3 separate regions of the Homo sapiens genome follow, and all the other regions are linked to region 1. The links are contacts of gene promoters, found by promoter capture Hi-C in human tissues and cell types (Jung and others, 2019). All regions are on one chromosome and are shown on one strand. Each heading gives the region's core, a stretch centred on a gene start or on the middle of the fragment in contact. The rest is flanking DNA. Distances are from core to core; before and after follow the strand shown. Region 1 holds the start of HPGD (15-hydroxyprostaglandin dehydrogenase). Region 2 holds the start of LINC02268 (long intergenic non-protein coding RNA 2268). Region 3 overlaps LOC101928551 (a long non-coding RNA gene).

What was found. Contacts are between HindIII fragments. The study calls those that stand out against the background at their distance.
Region 2: a fragment that was not itself captured here is called in contact with the fragment with the promoter of HPGD in region 1 in 1 of the 25 tissues and cell types used here (hippocampus).
Region 3: a fragment that was not itself captured here is called in contact with the fragment with the promoter of HPGD in region 1 in 1 of the 25 tissues and cell types used here (H1 embryonic stem cells).

What each region holds. Positions count from the first base shown.
Region 1 is chr4:174,521,238-174,523,737 of GRCh38, forward strand. It overlaps HPGD (15-hydroxyprostaglandin dehydrogenase), which reads right to left and starts at 1,251. Exons shown (of 7, transcript NM_000860.6): 1 at 1,122-1,251; 2 at 707-830. The coding sequence starts at 1,214. LOC105377548 (a long non-coding RNA gene) reads left to right here and starts at 1,376. Exons shown (of 7, transcript XR_007058492.1): 1 at 1,376-1,892; 2 at 2,148-2,184. The HindIII fragment of the contact is 5,489 bases long and covers 1-2,500 here.
Region 2 is chr4:174,219,409-174,222,108 of GRCh38, forward strand. It overlaps LINC02268 (long intergenic non-protein coding RNA 2268), which reads right to left and starts at 990. Exons shown (of 5, transcript NR_125896.1): 1 at 906-990. The HindIII fragment of the contact is 5,450 bases long and covers 1-2,700 here.
Region 3 is chr4:174,833,038-174,835,737 of GRCh38, forward strand. It overlaps LOC101928551 (a long non-coding RNA gene), which reads left to right. Exons shown (of 5, transcript NR_125900.1): 2 at 1,812-1,900. Among named protein-coding and RNA genes, the nearest start is that of GLRA3, 5.1 kb to the left of the region's middle. The HindIII fragment of the contact is 4,065 bases long and covers 1-2,700 here.

The sequences.
Region 1 (2,500 bases), core at 1-2,500:
AACAGCTTTATAATCAAAGCTGTTTATTGTGTATGCCAATATTGTCCCTGATACTTCACAAGTAGATTGGTCTATTTTAAGTGAGTAGCCGGAAACAGGAAAGCATTGAGGAAAGGCTGATAGAGATGTTTCTACTACAATTCTAACATTGTATACTTTATTATGATTACTATTATTATTATTTTAAAGTACTGTCTCATTGGGGAAAAAGCCGGAGAAAACATATGGTCAAAAGCATCTAGCACTTCTGTGATGATGCTCCTTGAACTTGTATTCTGATATGTTTAAACGAAAAACACTGCCACATTTGATTGTCATTGGACTCCAGCTTTCTGGGAGAAGTTGTTTGTCAACAGTACCTTACTTAACCTACTTTAATTTTCCAAGTTTTGTCTGCAATTTCAATCATTTAATAATTACTGCAGCAGCACTGTCTTTGAATACATAAAGGAATTTTGATTACATTAATGCTGCCAAATGACTACAATAAAAGGATTTCTCCAGCAGTCTTGCCTTTCTTTCGGTTTTACAGCTATTGGGCTGTCAGAAGGAAACGTATCAGTCCAAACTGTCTTTTGGAGCTTCAAGGTAGCTGCTCTCGAGGAGGCAGCGGAGGCGGCACCCAGGGCCCCCTGGCCGGGCTGCCTTCAGGTTGTTGCTTGTTGAGAGCACGTTCCCAGTTGACAGATTGATTCCCCTGTCTTACCTCTCAGTTGTTGCTGGTCAGCCACATCGCACTGGATGAACAGAGTCTTCTGAGGTTCAAACTGCTCATCCAGGGCAGCTTTACACTGTACACCTGCTTCAAGATTCCAATCCACCAGCGCTACCTATAGACAAGAGGAGAGGAATCGCGGGCCTGCGCAGCTCACGAAATAGACGGACAAACAATAAACACACAAGAGGCTCCCCTCCTGGACCTGAAATTTGGCAATTAGGTTTGGGTTCCCTCCCAGCCACTTCTGAGGTGTGCTCACAGCCTCAGCTTCAGCAAATTTTGGAAGTGGCAAAGTGGGCACGCCGGGCGCGGCCTCCCTGTCTCCGCCAGTGCACCTCGGGCGGCGGGGCGAGTCTCGGAGTGTGTGGGCAGAGAAATTTCCGCGGCTGGGCGCCGGGCTTACCTTGGCGCCCTTAAGCAGCAGCGCCTCTGCAAAGGCTCTGCCTATGCCCTGAGCCGCGCCGGTCACCAGCGCCACTTTGCCGTTCACGTGCATGGTGCAGCCACTGCTGGGGCGGGCGGTGGGCGAGCTCCGCGTCTCCGCGCGGCCGCGGCTTTTATGCCCCCCTGCGCGCGCGCGCGTGCAGCCCGGCGGGGCGCTCCCCTGCCAGTGGGCGGGGAGGAAACTGTCAAGCCAGCGCCCGCCGGGGAACCCACGACTGTGTCACCTGCCCCCTGAGCGTTCTGGAGCGCCAAGCTTCGCGATCTTTGCCTTCCGGACTCGCAGACCGGCTCAAAGCCTCCCCTCAGCCTCTGGCTCCGTGATTGGCAGGCAGCTGACAGAAGAAAAGTTAAAAGGTTATTTCTGAAGAAGAGTTTCCTTCAGTGCCCTAAAGACCAACTGGATAGAAGGAGAGCGGAGCAGAGGCTTGGAAGCTTGGATCCCTCCTCCTGCACTCCCTCCCGGCCCCGACTCCGGAACAAAACAAGCAAACAATAAAGCAAACTTGTTGCTCTTTTGTCTCAAAGTTTTGTGTGAGTTCCCATCTCGTAATCAGTGGGGTTGAGGGTGACGGGGAGCAGAAGTAACTAATATCATTGTGTTTTCTTAGTTACATTTTGGACAAATTTTTACGGATACTGGAGATGAGAAGTGGACTCTGCTCTGTCCTGAAAACCTGGAATCATAACATTTCATGGCTAGGACTAGAGTGTCCTTGGCGCTGTGTTTCTGGTCAGTGTCAATTGTGTGTCATATTGAGATGCCCCCACAAAAACTGTCATCATCAACAGGCGCTCCAGAGCCGCTGGTAGCCTACCAAATTGTTGGCTCAATGGAATGCTTACTTGTTGAAATACACCAACTTTGGAAGCTCTGAGTCAAGTTTGGGACAGAGGTTCCTTGCTCTCCAGGAACTCCAGGGCTAGCTGTATGCGGACTTGCATAAATAACAAGGGCTATTCCACTGACTTTGTCTCTTTTTCTCAGGTTGTCAGCGGCAGGCTGCAATTTTAATTCTGTAAACGTAAGTGGTTGGCTTTTTTTTTTTTTTTTTTTTTTTAATCTTGAGACAAGATCTCGCTCTGTCTGTTTGGCTAGAATGCAGTGGCATAATCCCAGCTCGCTGCAACCTCAATCTCCAGGGCTCAAGCGACCCTCCCACCTTGGACTCCCAAAGAGTGCTAAGATTACAGGCATGAGCCACTATGCCCAGCTGGCATTTATTTTCTTAAAGAAAAAAAAAATCTAAATACTTGGGGGAAATGGGAGTTGAGCAAAAGACTGACACTAACAGCAGAATGAATCATTTTTATATCTTCTTTACCTTCTTTACTGGGAAA
Region 2 (2,700 bases), core at 20-2,519, 300 kb before region 1:
TGGTTTGGAAAGCAATAAATGCATATTTGCAAGAAGTCATGAAAAATCAAGATTAAAAATACTGTATAATCTTCCTGGTAAAACATATATACATTTTATATCTGACCATATGAAACTGTCATCTATAAGTATTACATTTTAATGAAGCATAACTCCTCATGATATATTTATTTCATAACAAATGGCAAAGGTAATATTACTTATCTTCAAGTATTTTTTCTTTTAAAAGCTCCTCCCACCAAATGAGAGACCTCTATTTAAACAGCAACTTCTATTGAAATATATGATCTGAAGGAATTCGCTATTTGAAAGTCTTTTGACAGCTTTACAGATTATATCTGTTGAGTTTTTTCTCTCTCTCTTATTTCCACAATTTACATGTGTGAATATATGGGTAACCCTCACTAACTTTTCAACATCAGTCACGCACATTAGGTAGAAAAAATTAATTTTGAAACTATTCTTTGTTTTTAAAATGATATATGTCATTACTGTTAGGTGAGTAAGCTAAGTGTGTTTTTTTGGAAGGGGAAGGTAGGTTAATCACAATGATAGAGCAAATATAAATAGTATTATGTTGTTGGTGTTAAAAGGCAAAACCTCTTAGTCTGTGAAGATCACCTACTTACCTTCTCTCCATTAAAAAAAGAGTTGAACTTTTTGGCTCCCTGTATAATGTGTGTTCTCCATAGATTTTATACTAAATATTAATATTAAGATTATAGAGCTAACCTTTTTCTAATGTCAAAGAGCTTTTGAACAATACAGGCACAAGAGAGAAAAGACACCTACCTCATACATTCACATCCCAAATTTCCTATCTCCAATGCAACAGGAATAATCTTTTTATTCCATTAAAATGGTCACTAACCTTATAATAATAAAGGCATGTTTTAATCTCTTACCTGAAGGAGTCTTATCAATGTAACAAGAACTGAAATTGTGACTGGTCCTTGTTGTCGTTTACAGTACAGAGATCTGTACTGTATTGCCTTTGTGGAGGGCTGAAGTAACAACATATGACTACTGCCTCCTGAGACCCTTATGAAAATAAGATATATAGCTGGTTCAAATAAATGTTTTAGGCCTTGACCCAGGAATATAATTGAGAAAAACAAATTATTTCACATACACTAAAACATAATTAAAATGTTATTCTAAGCTTTGCTTTTGTGTGTTATGTTGTATGTGCATACTAATGTTATCCTCAATCATAAAGCTATGTAAGAAATGATTGTACTTTTAAAAATGTTACGTAAACATCTTTTTTCCTAAAAGTGGCAAAAATTACCTTAGAAAGCAGTTACAGTGCAACTTTCACTTTTAAAGGTTTTCAAGATTGAATATTTTAATTCATAACATATTTCTCATTGTTAAAATTCTTTGGCTTCCTCATATCTGGCATTTAAAATTTTTCAGTTGTTTTGTAGACTATGTATGTAAGGTTGCATTTTTCACTGTCAACATAAAGTTATTGTTTGCTTTGGATTTAATATGTATTTGGATATGTATGCATATTTGTTTAAAACTATGAACTCTGGGGAGGGTTTTAATTCTATGCAACATAAGTCAGTTTTATATAATGAATATATACAACTTCAGCTAATAAAAAGTAAGATTTTAATCTTGACAATATATTCCTAAAATGCATTAAGATATTGTCAATCTAAAATGAGCTTGATTTGAGAACAAAAAGAATAAGTTCTTTTAATGAACTAGTGGTATATTGTTATATGTATATATGTTTTGCTGATTTTAGCAAGAAAATGGAAAATAATCCATAAGAAAATGGAAAATAATCCTCCTGCAAAAGAAACCTGAAGTGGATTACCTAATAAATTGTTTTCAGCCTGAATTTTAAGGTATCACGACATAGTCATGTTTGTTTTTTAAAATATCATTTTCAAAAATCAAAGACATTAATGGTATTCTCTATTTCAAAACTATGATCATTATTCTGCTTTTTGCCACCAATATTTATGCTAGGAGAAACATGTTTAAGAGTCATCAACACCTTGGGCTCATTGACCATACGAATGAGTCACATGGTCAAAATGAATAAAATGTTATTTAGAAAAAGGAAAAATATATATATATATTTATACATATGCATAGGTATTCTTTTTAAATGAATAAAAGGGCTTCATAATTTGGGACAGCAGAAAAAGGGAGTAGCAAGCATCACAGCCCAAAGCAAGAATGAAAGTAGCAATGGTGTCTAGACAAAGGAGCAAGGATATTTGCTTTTACAGTTAGTTTTATTTGGGATATCTTGGAAGAAAGAAGGGTAGGCTCTCAATGGCTAAATTAAATTATCTGGATGATTTGTCTACACAGAGCAATAATGACATCTCTTTTTGTTGTTGTTTGCTTTTGTTTTGTTTTTTGTTTGTTTGTTTGGAGACAGAGTCTCACTCTGTTGACCAGACTGGAGTTGCCCGGGCTGGAGTGCAGTGGCATGATCTCGGCTCACTGCAGCCTCCACTTCACGGATTCAAGAGATTCTCCTGCCTCAGCCTTCTGAGTAGCTGGGATTAAAGGTGCCCACCACCACACCAGCTAATTTTGGTGTTTCTAGTAGAGACAGGGGTTTCACCATTTTGGCCAGGCTGGTCTTGAACTCCTGACTTCAAGTGATCCGCCTGCCTTGGCCTCCCAAAATGCAGAGATTAGAGGCCTGAGCCACCGCGCCCGGCTCCT
Region 3 (2,700 bases), core at 138-2,637, 310 kb after region 1:
AGAATACACCTTTGAAACCGTCAACACAATCAATGCTATAATCCTATCCATGACCTCCCAAAGTTTTCTCCCACTCTTTTGATTGTTTTGTTTTTTCTTTCTGTGGTAAGAGCATTTAACGTAAGATTTATCTTCTTAACAAATTTTAAAGTATACAATACAGCATTGTTAATCATAGGCCCTTTGCTGTGCAGGAGATATTCAAAAATTTTTTGTCTTGTATAACTGAAACTTTAGACCTTTTGTCCAATCCTTCCCCAGTTTACTCCTCCCCTATCCTCTGATAACCAACCCTTTACTCTGTTTCTGTGAGTTTGACTGTTTTAGACTCCACATATACGTGAGATCATATAGTATTTATCCTTCTGTTGACTGGCTTATTTCTCTTAACATAATGTCCTTCAGGTCCATTCATGATGTCACAAATGTTCAGGTTTTCTTCTTTTTTTAAGGCTAAATAACTTTCCTGCGTGTATATATATTACCATGAGTCATGGTGTCACAACTGATTTCTTTATCCATTCATCCACCAATGGACACAGAGGTTGTTTCCATATCTTGACTACTGTGAATAATGTTGCAGTGAACATGGAAGTGCAGATATCTCTTCAACAAACTAATTTCAATTCCTTTAGATATGCACTCAGAAGTAGGATTTCTGGATCAAATGGTAATTTTAGTTTTAATGTTTGAGTAATCTTCATCTTGTTTTCCATAGTGGCTTTACCAATTTACATTCCCATCAACAGTGTAAAGTGTTCTCTTTTCTCTACATCCTAGCCAACACATGCCCTTTGTTTTTTGATAATAGCCAACTTAACAAATATGAGCTGATATCTCATTGTGGTTTTAATTTGTATTTTCCTGATGACTGGTAAAAGCCATTTTTCATATACTTATTGGCTGTTTTATGTCTTCTTTTGAGAAATGTCTATTCAGTTCCCTTGTCCATTTTTTGTTTGGGTTGTTTTATTGCTATTGAGTTGTTTGAGTTTATTATACATTTTAGATATTAACCACTTTTCAGATACGTGGTCTGCAAATATTTACTCTCATTCTATAATTTACTTTTTCATTTTGCTAACTGCTTCCTTTGCTGTGCAGAAGCTTTTTCATTAGATGTAATCCCACTTGTTTATCCCTGCTTTTTTTTTCCTGTGCTTTAGTGTCATATCCAAGAAATCATTGCCCAGTCTAATTTGTAGAAGATTTTCTCCAATGTTTTCTTCCAGGACTTGTATTGTTTTATGTTTTACAGTTAAGCCTTTAATCCATATTGAGTTGATTTTTGCATATAGCGGGAGATCAAGTCCAATTTCATTTTTTTGTGTGTTGAATTTTGATTTTTCCAAAACCATTCATTGAACAGACTATCTTTCCCTCATTGTGTATTCTTGGCACCTTTGTGGAAGATCAGTTGACCTTATATGCATCGGTTTATTTATGGGCTCTCTGTTCTACTCAACTGGTCTGTATGTGTGTTTTTATGCCAGTGCCTTGTTTCAATAACTAGTTTTGTAATACATGTTCAAATCAGGGAGTGTGATACCGTCAGCTTTGTTCTTCTTGCTCAAAATTGCTTAGACTTTTTTTTTCTTTACTGGTTTCCCTTTTCCCCACTATGTATCAGTCACATGAGCTGTTTCTTTTCTCAGAATTTGTCTACTTTAAACACCTGTCCTCTTGGGCTTTCTATCTTTGGTTACCTTTCAGCCTTTAACTCACAGTACGGCTATCAGTTTCTTTCTTGAGCACAATATATAACAAAATTTCCCCTTTACTTTTAATTCATGGTGTTTTTTTCTTCACAGATGAAATATAATTTGATGTTTGCCCTTGTTTGAATACTCCATGAAGATGAGGAAAATACATGTTTGTGTCTAACAGTGTCTGGCATGTGGTAAGTGGTCGGTAAATATACTTTAAATCAATGATTGAGTGCATAAATATTCTTTGTTCTTTGGTTAACCCTTTTTTAAATTCCATGCTTACTAAGCTTTTTAACCCATTCTCTCTTCATAAAATTATTTAAGATCTCTAGGTTGTAGTGTGTTTTCTTTGGCGATCGAAAAGCAACTTTGGAGTTTTTATGTGTGCCCTCAGTTCACTCTAAGAGCACTTTATTTATTTATTTATTTTTGATACAGAGTATTACTGTGTTGCCCAGGCTGGAGTGCAGTGGTGCGATCTCAGCTCACTGAGACATGTGCCTCCCAGGTTCAGATGATTCTCCTGCCTCAGGAGAGTGCCTTGTTTATGAAAAATAAGTTAATATTATCCATTATACTAGAATTTTTACAATTGTAACATGTTAAAAAATATTCAAGACACTCTTTAGAGACAATATGGAAGAGCTTATTCAAGGGAGAATATTGCAATAGGTATAGGGATTGTTGCAATGGGTCTTATAGTGTGGTAGAGACATTGGTCTTGACTCTGATTACAAGAGGAACAAGTGCGAATCTATGGTCAAGGAGTAGGGGCTGGTGAATGAAAAGTTACTAAGAGAAAACATCAGGGATAAGGGGATTCTTCTTACACTGACTTGACAGGATTTTTATTGAAGGTAAACCAGCATGACAAGATATTGAGGGTAAGGAATAAGGAATTTGATCAGATATCAAGGGTGTTTATGTAAGGGCAGGGGATTTTCACTAGACTAGCCCAGCAAGATTCTTGCTAAAAGTGCTCTAAACAGGC